2 separate regions of the Homo sapiens genome follow, and region 1 is linked to region 2. Evidence: promoter capture Hi-C in human tissues and cell types (Jung and others, 2019). All regions are on one chromosome and are shown on one strand. The core of a region is centred on a gene start or on the middle of the fragment in contact, and the rest is flanking DNA. Distances in the headings are between cores, read along the strand shown.

Region 1 (5,260 bases), core at 1,074-3,573, 720 kb before region 2:
CTGTGCTCTACAGGATTTCTCCTACTCCTTTGCAGTTCTCCAGGGCTCTCCTTTATTTATTTTGGTGGAAATGTCGTTTTTTCATTTGTTTGGCTTGGTTTTTTTATGGGGGAGGAGTGCTAGGAACTTCAAGTCAGCCATCTTACTGATACCACTTAGCAATGATCCCATGTGCTATGTAGAATTATGCTGTTTAGTCTCTAAATATTTGGAGATTTTCCAAAGATCTTTTTATTACTAATTTCTAATTTAATTTAATTTTGGTCGGAGAACACACTTTGTATGGCTTGAATCTTTGTGAAACGTATCTAGTGTTTTAAAAAATGACTATGTATATGTGTATCATTTAAGAAAATAATAGTATGTACTGTATATACTATTTTGTATATACAGAATGTTTTCTTACCTTTTTTTATTTGCAGACCATACTTTTGTATGTACAGACCATTTTCATAAAGCAACATATTGTGGACATTTCCTTATGTAAAATATTTTCTAAAGCATGACTTTAAAAAAATAACTTTTTTGCAGAACTAATATATTTTTGTCATTCAGAAATCAAAACAATATAAAAAGATATACATTGAGAAATTATATATTCACCCCTATTTTCATTCATGTTAATTCTCACAGTATTAGTTTCAGGGGAATCTGTCTTGCATTTTTCTATACAAACACAAGCAAATATACATGTATACTCTTATTTTTGTACCCTTACACAAAAAGTGAACAACATGACACTTAGTCATTGAATATGGATATGTATAATTATTTCATACATATTGATGAATTTTTCCAATTTTAAGAAAAGCTGAATATCTTCTCTGTGCTGAGCACTGTGCTGGCCAGTGCTGTAGATTTAGTTTTGATAACAGCTATATTGGATCATAGAAACATCAGCCCACTTTATAAATGATTGGCTTTATATAAGCTACGTAAGCTGATGTTTTATATATGTATTTTTCTTTTGATGTCTTCAAAGAACCTTATTTTATTCATCTTTGTATTCTTGGTGCTGAGCATATAGTAGGTCCTTAATAAATATAGCTGTGTGAATAAATTAATTTTTTAGTTCAGTTAGTTCGTGTTGTAAATAATGAGGACTTTGGTGCTAAATATTTTCACCCTTCATGTCCATTATATCTAACTACAGAATGTTACATGGTAAATAGGGGAAAGTTTAGCAGATGAGCACGTAGTTGCAGTGAGGAGGTTAGTCATGCTTCCTTTGAAATCTTGTGTTGTGATGTGGTAGAAAAATCAAATTCAGGGGCATGTTATGGGCCTAGATGTAGATTCTTTCTGAGCTATTTTGTGGGGTGATGAAATGGTAATGAAATGTCAAGTGAAAGTACTCTAACATAGGCTTTACCAGTGAGGATGTAGTAAGTACTGGGTTCCTTTCTCCCTTATTCTTCAGATTTGCCTCTAGGCCCAGCAGGTAATTTGAGTGTAAACTCAGGAGCCTATTCATATCCACCAAATCCACACTATACAGCCTGGTGTCCAGGGTACACAGCAGAGATAGGAGTTTGCAGGTGAGGATGAGACTTGAATAATTCTCCCGTACCTGGTTCTCATTGGCTGAGGGACTGGGCATGGTGCTTTACCTATAATCCTCACAAACCATACTCAATAAGTATTATTATCTTTATTTTGAAAATAAGGAAACTACAAATCTGCGTGTTCTGCACATGTATCTCAGAACTTAAAGTATAATTTAAAAAATTTAAAAAAGAAAATAAGGAAACAGACCTGAAAGAGTCAAAATGCTTGTCTAAGGACATGGATAAAAGACAGGATGAAAAATCACAGTAGGTCTGTCTGGCTTCAAAGACTTTTTTTTTTCCTCCATTATATTATGCTGCTTTTTGGGATACTAAGAAAACATCAACAGTTTTGAAGGATTTATTATAATAGAATCTGACCTATGCTTAATTTTCTAGAATTTTAATTTTAACTTTTATATGTATGAAAATTTGAGTTCATGAAGGGAGAAAATTATAATTTAGATAACTATGATAAAATTACTTTAAAGCCTTTGAATATGGCTGGGCAAAAAATAGTACATATTTTTTGAAAACAAATATTGGTTAGGAATTGAATCAGGGATTTAGGCCAGTATGAACTACATGTTTTTATCTTTACATAGAAAAGGAATCTTAGAATATAGGATCAAGCTCTTTGGGATTATTTTGACATCGGTTTATTATTATGTGGACTCCTGGAAGGTAGCATTTTGTGCCTGAAAACATTGAAGTTGGGGATTTCTCTCGTGTACTGTGCTATGTTTATATTAGGTTATGCATGGCAGTTTGGCACTTTGTTTTGCAGATGTTCGTAATGTACAGTCTTGAATCTTGTTTCTATTTCTGGCGTGCTTTTAAGTATGACTCATGTTTTCTTGAGGCCATTCTAAAAATACAGCTAGTTTCAAGCATTAATGTAAAATATACCACAGATACCACATAGCACTGCATGATGCTTTCTTTCAGTAGTTTAGTGCAATTTCCTGACAAATTAAATATAGACATGCTTTTTGGTAAAATACGCTATACTAAAACATGAATAAGTGAAAGTTGGATTTTCTTTGAGAAGTAGATCCTCTGATAACATAATATTCATTACAAAATAACTTTGAAATTTTAATAAAAGGAATAAAACATACCATTGATACCACCAAAAAGAAGTAGAACTAATGGCTGGAACAGCAAGTCTGCTAAATTTGATGTAGCCCTGAGAGGTCCACACTTGTAGGGAAAGTCTTGCACCTGAAGCTGGACACCTGTTGAAAAGCTTTTGGAGGGACTGTAGAACATAATGACTGAAATACAAGTTTTGGACTTAAACAACTTAGGTATAAATCTTGGTTTATGGACTTAGCAGCTATAGACAAATGATACTACATTTCCAATTTTGATTTTCTTATTGTAAAATGGGAGTAATGAGTATTTAACAAACACAGCATTTACTGTTATTAGACACTGTTCTAAGTGCTTAATATAATCCTCATAACAACTTTATAAGTAAGTACAATTGTATCTATTATACAGATGAGGAAACTGAGCAGAGAGGTTAAATAACTTGATTAAGGTTACATAGCTAGTAAATAGTAGAGTTGGAATTTGAACCCAGCCAATCTGTCTTGAATCTGTGTCTTTATACAATAGGTCTGCTGCTTTCTAGAATTGTTATGAGATCCTATGTGAAAAATCGTTTGTATGTTTACCTGGTACCTGATAGGAATGCAATAAATTATAGCCATTATTAGTATTGTTATTGAGGGAGAATAAAAGCAGGGAAAATGTATTTTCTTTGTGAAGGTATGCCATAGACTACAAGGCCAGCCATGGGATTCAGAAGTAGCTTATATGTATTAAGAAACTTATGTAAAATTGGAATGTGATGATGAGAGCCTTAGATATCCTGACAACTCCTACAGACTTACTCTAAAGGTAGAACTTATTCTCTACTGATTTCCTCGCTAAAAGTTTTATCTTTCAGAAGGTAAAGGAAATAGAGAGAAACTCTTTCTCTGGGCTTAATTGTGACAAACTCATTAGTGGTGTGCAGGCAACAGAGGCCTTGAGAAAAAATAATGACTACACAATATTTCTCAACTATGGTGCCATTGACATACTGGGCAGGATGAGACCATCTTGGTCATTGCATTTACCATCACAAAATATCAGTGGTGTACCAAATTATTTCTCATTTCCCAAAGCTTTACAACAACCCAAAGTACTCCCAGACATTTTCCAAATGCCTCCTGGCAGGCCTAGAATGGTAGCAGTATGGTCACCAGTTGAGAACCACTGCTGAGTGCTAAGAATAAAGGAAGGACTGAGACTAGTCAGATGTGCCTTAAGGCAGTGTTTCTCAGTACATGTGCATCATGCTGAAGTGGAAGACACTCCCAGGAGCATAAACATGATTATACATAATTCCCAGGGCTCTAGCTTTAAATAACTCCATGCTTTTCTCTTCTACTTAAGAAAGTACACTGCTGTACAAATGTCTCTATTATGGCTATAACCTCAATTCTGCTCCAGTTTGCTTCAAAAAATGAAAAGATAAGTTATTCCTAAACATCAGCACTTTATTATACAGACAATTTATGAGGGGCAGGCCTCACATTTGATTAGGAACTGCTACCTTAGATTTTAAAAAATCTTGAAAATGATTATGGTTCCAAGGTCAAAACATTCAAAACAAACTGGAAGTATAGAACTAAATTGAGACTCCATAATTATAAACAGTTACCAATAGTCATAAATAATAAAAGGTGGGAGGAAGTTAAAGAAACCAACTTGGCTTGAACTTCTAGAACTTTACAAATTTTGGATTTTAAATTATCAAGTCCAGATAATGGAAGGTCAGGCACATTGCCAAAGTTGAATACAAAGTGACACAAAACTGTGAGAGTACTATAGAGAATGCCTGTGGCCAAATTAAGCTGAGATTTATGAAAATGTAAAGAAAAAACCCAAAGTGTTTTTAAGTTTTTAATTATATGTTTGATATCAGAGTAGGAAGAGGTAATAGATTTACAGCATAGAGAACATTGTGTAGTTTTACTAATAAAGAAGTTAAGGTGTCTTAACTCTTATTTTGTTTCATCCTTAAACAGCAAGGAGGCTGACTTGTCTTGAAGCAAGAAAGAATAGACTGTATATTATAAAGATTGATTTAAGCTTCAAGTAGAAAAGAAAATAGGTAAAAGGGCATGTGATAGTTATAAATAAGATTAACTCTCTAGACTCAGGCCAGTTGCATGCTAGCATCATGAAACTACCTAATAGATTGCTAAAAAGTATAGGTTCTTAGAGCAGTATTTTTCAATCTACTTTTCTTTATTACTCTCCTGCGGATATTTTCTCCCTGTTATTATTCCTTCCTAACCCCAAGAAACTTGAATACCATAGATATGTTATATATCTGCTTATGTACTGTGTCCTTTTAGAGATGGAGTCTCACTTTGTCGCCCAGGCTGGAGTGCAGTGGCGTGATCTTAGCTCACTGCAACCTCTGCCTCCCCTGTTCAAGTGATTCTTCAGCCTCAGCCTCCTGAGTAGCTGGGACTACAGGCTTCGCCATGTGGGCCAGGCTGGTCTTGAACTTCTGACCTCAGGTGATCCACCTGCCTCGGCCTCCCAAAGTGCTGGGATTACAGGCGTGAGCCACCATGCCTGGCCGAGGACCACAAACTATTGTAACATCTAAACATTTTTTTCAAGTCCCCCTTCCAGGAACCAACTTT
Region 2 (5,360 bases), core at 1,678-4,177:
GCCTACAGGTGTCTGCCACCATGCCCAGCTAATTTTTTGTATTTTTAGTAGAGACAGGGTTTCACCGTGTTAGCCAGGATGGTCTCAATCTCCTGACCTCATGATCCGCCTGCCTCAGCCTCCCAAAGTGCTGGGATTACAGGTGTGAGCCACTGCACCCGGCCCTATGTTTTCTTTTTGAAGCTTTATAGTTTCCACTTTTCCATTTAGTATTAGGAGAAATTTTGAATTAATTTTTTGCTTATGGTGTAAGGTAGGGGCAAGGGCAACTTTCTGTCTTACATTCTTGATCCAGTTGTTCCAATAACATTTGTTGAAAAGAATTTTCTTTCTTCATTGAATTGCATTGGTATCATGCTGTATTTCTAAAATTTTAAATTTAATTCCTCAGTTGCACTAGCCACATTTCACGTACCCAAGAGCTACATGTGGCTTCTGGCTACTGTATCAGCCAGCACAAATATAAAATATTCCCAAGTTTTATGGGACAGCACATAGCTCTAGATCTTAGGGAATAGTGCCTAATAGATATCTTCAATTGTGTGACAGGTAACCTAAACCAAATAACACAGTAAGAGCAGATATAAGGAAGGTAAAAATCAGTCACTGCCTATATGAGGTACCTAGAGTAGTCAAAAGTCATAGAGACAAAGAGTAGAATGGCAGTTGCCAGAAGTGGGGGCTAGAGAGTTATTGTTTAAATGGGTACAGAGCTTCAGTTTTGTGATAGTGGCAAAACCGTGTGAATATATTTAATGCTAAAGAACTATACACTGAAAATGTTTAAATGGTAAATTTAGTGTTATGTATATTTTACCAATATTTTAAGAAGTTTTTTAAAATGGCCATTCCTGCGCTGGGCATGTGGCTCATGCCTGTAATTGCAGCAACTCAGAGGCTCAGGCAGGAAGAGTGCTTGACACCAAGATTTCCAGACCAGGCTGGCAACACAGTGAGACCCTGTCTATAATTTTTTTTTAATTAACTGGGTGTGGTGGTATGCATCTATAGCTCTAGTTACTTGGGAGGCTGAGGGCAAAGTATTGCTTGAGCACTGGAGTTTGAGGCAGCAGTGAGCTATTATGGTGCCACTGCACTCCAACCTGGGTGACAGGGCAAGACCCCATCTCAAAAAAAAAAAAAAAAAAGAAAAAAAAAAGGCTTTTTTCCCCAGCTGGTATTCACTGCAAGTCAGGAAACAATCATTGTTACTGATAATGACTGACTTGATTCTCTCTGGTGTATCTGAGGGATATCTAACATCTCTTTTTATTTACAGAGGAGTTATTAGAGCCCAGAGGCTGACTTAATTTAATGTGTCTACCCTAGAGTATTTCCAGTGGACTTCAGCTGATAAGTTGAAGTTATCTTCAGCTGATAAGAGAAAAACAATTTGAAAGTTATTCTCTTGTAATGTGTTATCCATACATGCATGTAACACTGATGATTTTCTTTATTAGGTTATGGTAACATAACAAACTAGCAGCAGGAGCAGTCATGGTTTTGTAATAAAAGTTATCTGAAAAAGTCTGTTACTGGTGGAGGGTGTCCAGGTTCTTGGCGTTTTGGACAAAAAATTGGACAAAACACATAAACAAAGCAAGGAAACAATGAAACAACAAAAGCAGAGATTTACTGAAAATGAAAGTACACTCCACAGTGGGGAGCGGGCCTGAGCATAGGGGCTCAAGGGCCCTGTTACAGAATTTCTGAAGGTTTAAATACCCTCTAGAGGATTCCACTGGTTACTTGGTGTACACCCTATGTAAATGAAGAGAATGAAGTAAAGTTACAAACTCATTTACTCAGCATACACCCTATGGAGAGGATCTTTCCTGTTATAGCTAAAGTGTGAATCAGCCTTATGTTCCCTGCCTCCAGACCCTATTTTCCTGCCTCAAATCTCTAATACTTGATTTTGATGATTTAACTGTTGATCCCAATGCAAATATAAAAGACTTTGTAAAGCATAGACTATACTATATATTAATTCAAGGAATGTCAGGGCATGTACTGATGTTGAATTCTGAGAATCATGTGCTTTTGTACAGAACAAAGTCTGTTTGTTGAAATATTTTGAGTTAAAATACTCCCTAAAACTCCTTAATAAAGGGAATTACATAATCTGTTAATTGATTTGTGGAACGGCAGTGAAAGAGGCTGTATTAGACGACTTGAAAACACTCATATTTGGAGCTTAACGAAAATACTCCTGCTCTCCAGAGATGAAATGTTAGTGAGAGCAGCAAATAATTTATTTTTATATGCTGGATTTGCGTATTTGAGACCATCTATTAATACTGTTCTTTAGGACCTCAACCTAGTCGTCTAAGACATCCTTATTAAACGAGACCAATAGATATCATTTAATATTGAAAATATTGTTAATGCCCTTCAAAATCTTTCGAAGGAATAAACATTAAAAACTAGAAATTCTTTGTAAAATTTTGCGGTTTAAAATAATACTCGGTTTCAAATTAGTGGGTGCCTCATTTATCATAAATTATAAAAGAGAATCTAACAGTTATTGGCTACATTCTAGGCACGGGGTAACGCTTTACTATTCTTCTAACCAAAAACATACATGTATCTAAGTATCCCATGTAAGGTATCATTGAACCACACAAAACCCTATGAAATACTGGCAGGGGGCGGTGGCTCACGCCTGTAATCCCAGCACATTGAGAGGCCGAGGCAGGAGGATAATTTGAGCCCTCAGGAGTTCAAGACCAGCCTGGGCAACAGTCTCTTCACCATCAAATCCAGGAGAATTAATTTCTACTGTTAGAGCAGTCAACTAAAGGACAGCTCGCGATATTACACAAACTACTACTCCCAACATGCAAAGCGGTTTCTTTCCCTCTGTCCCCGCCCGGCCGTCCGAGAGCCCCAGCAGGCCTCGGGGCGCGAAAGGCAACCTGGGAGCAGTAGTTCTCCCGGGCGCCTAGCGGGATCGCCAGCGCGGCAGTGGGGGCTTCCGCGGCTGCAAGCCAGCGGGTCCTGTGAGGGCGAGCGGAGGCGGAGAAAGGGCGCGGGAGTGAGAGAGGGTGAGTCAGCCACTGTCTATGCAATAAAGGGAGGCCTCACCGCGGGATAGGGCTGAATTCAGAAGTGCGGCCCGTGCCGCAGTCTGTTCCAGGACGCGGCTTGTCTTAGCGTCAGCGAGGGAAGGTTGAGGAGGAGCCAGAGCCTGGTCCTGCAGCCTTTCTCGCCGTCAGCGCCCGTCGCCATCTCCACCATGCAGTCCCGGGAAGACGTCCCGCGCTCTCGCCGCCTCGCCAGTCCCCGTGGTGGGAGGCGGCCCAAGAGGATTTCCAAGCCCTCGGTTTCGGCCTTTTTCACGGGTCCAGAGGAGTTAAAGGACACGGCCCATTCTGCAGCCCTGCTGGCACAGCTCAAGTCCTTCTACGACGCGCGGCTGCTGTGTGATGTGACCATCGAGGTGGTGACGCCTGGCAGCGGGCCTGGCACGGGTCGCCTCTTTTCCTGCAATCGCAACGTGCTAGCAGCTGCGTGTCCCTACTTCAAGAGCATGTTCACAGGTGGCATGTACGAGAGCCAGCAGGCCAGCGTGACCATGCACGATGTGGACGCCGAGTCCTTCGAGGTGTTGGTCGACTACTGCTACACGGGTCGTGTGTCTCTCAGTGAGGCCAATGTGCAGCGCCTGTACGCGGCCTCCGACATGCTACAGCTGGAATATGTGCGGGAAGCCTGTGCCTCCTTCTTAGCCCGACGTCTTGACCTGACCAACTGCACCGCCATCCTCAAGTTTGCAGACGCCTTCGACCATCACAAGCTTCGATCTCAGGCCCAGTCCTACATAGCTCACAACTTCAAGCAGCTCAGCCGAATGGGTTCAATTCGGGAGGAGACTCTAGCAGATCTAACCCTGGCCCAGCTGCTGGCTGTCCTACGCCTGGATAGTCTGGACATAGAGAGTGAGCGGACTGTATGCCATGTAGCTGTGCAGTGGCTGGAGGCTGCTGCCAAAGAGCGGGGTCCCAGTGCTGCAGAAGTCTTCAAGTGCGTGCGCTGGATGCACTTCACTGAAGAAGATCAGGACTACTTAGAAGGGCTGCTGACCAAGCCCATCGTGAAGAAGTACTGCCTGGACGTTATTGAAGGGGCCCTGCAGATGCGCTATGGTGACCTGTTGTACAAGTCTCTGGTGCCAGTGCCAAACAGCAGCAGCAGCAGTAGCAGCAGCAACTCTCTTGTATCTGCAGCAGAAAATCCACCCCAGAGACTGGGTATGTGTGCCAAGGAGATGGTGATCTTCTTTGGACATCCTAGAGATCCCTTTCTCTGCTATGACCCTTACTCGGGGGACATTTACACAATGCCATCCCCTTTGACCAGCTTTGCTCACACTAAGACTGTCACCTCCTCAGCTGTCTGTGTGTCCCCAGACCATGACATCTATCTAGCTGCTCAGCCCAGGAAAGACCTCTGGGTGTATAAACCAGCTCAGAATAGTTGGCAGCAACTTGCAGATCGCTTGCTGTGTCGTGAGGGCATGGATGTGGCATATCTCAATGGCTACATCTACATTTTGGGGGGACGAGACCCTATTACTGGAGTTAAGTTGAAGGAAGTGGAATGCTACAGTGTTCAGAGAAACCAGTGGGCATTGGTGGCTCCTGTCCCTCATTCCTTCTATTCCTTTGAACTCATAGTGGTTCAGAACTATCTTTATGCTGTCAACAGTAAGCGCATGCTTTGCTATGATCCTAGCCACAATATGTGGCTGAACTGTGCTTCTCTTAAACGTAGTGACTTTCAGGAAGCATGTGTCTTCAATGATGAAATCTATTGTATCTGTGACATCCCAGTCATGAAGGTCTACAACCCAGCTAGGGGAGAATGGAGGCGGATTAGTAATATTCCTTTGGATTCAGAGACCCACAACTACCAGATTGTCAATCATGACCAAAAGTTGCTTCTCATCACTTCTACAACCCCACAATGGAAAAAGAACCGAGTGACAGTGTATGAGTATGATACTAGGGAAGATCAGTGGATTAATATAGGTACCATGTTAGGCCTTTTGCAGTTTGACTCTGGCTTTATTTGCCTTTGTGCTCGTGTTTATCCTTCCTGCCTTGAACCTGGTCAGAGTTTTATTACTGAGGAAGATGATGCACGGAGTGAGTCTAGTACTGAATGGGACTTAGATGGATTCAGTGAGCTGGACTCTGAGTCAGGAAGTTCAAGTTCTTTTTCAGATGATGAAGTCTGGGTGCAAGTAGCACCTCAGCGAAATGCACAGGATCAGCAGGGTTCTTTGTAAATAGTATTTTGAGACACTAAGATGTTTCTACTGCTACGGAATGTATTTTAAACACATATCGTTTCTT

Evidence for each region. Contacts are between HindIII fragments. The study calls those that stand out against the background at their distance.
Region 1: a contact is called between a fragment that was not itself captured here and the fragment with the promoter of KBTBD7 in region 2, in 1 of the 25 tissues and cell types used here (dorsolateral prefrontal cortex).

Annotation. Positions count from the first base shown.
Region 1 is chr13:41,913,895-41,919,154 of GRCh38, reverse strand. The region is part of intron 2 of VWA8 (von Willebrand factor A domain containing 8); the gene reads left to right. Among named protein-coding and RNA genes, the nearest start is that of VWA8, 45 kb to the left of the region's middle. RefSeq lists enhancers at 1,151-1,270, 2,380-2,459. The HindIII fragment of the contact is 3,772 bases long and covers 438-4,209 here.
Region 2 is chr13:41,192,136-41,197,495 of GRCh38, reverse strand. KBTBD7 (kelch repeat and BTB domain containing 7) reads left to right here and starts at 2,927. Exons shown (of 1, transcript NM_032138.7): 1 at 2,927-5,360. The coding sequence starts at 3,239. The coding sequence ends at 5,293. The region is part of intron 3 of KBTBD6-DT (KBTBD6 divergent transcript); the gene reads right to left. RefSeq lists enhancers at 2,757-2,846, 3,157-3,426, 2,771-3,477, 3,478-4,185. The HindIII fragment of the contact is 7,226 bases long and covers 1-5,360 here.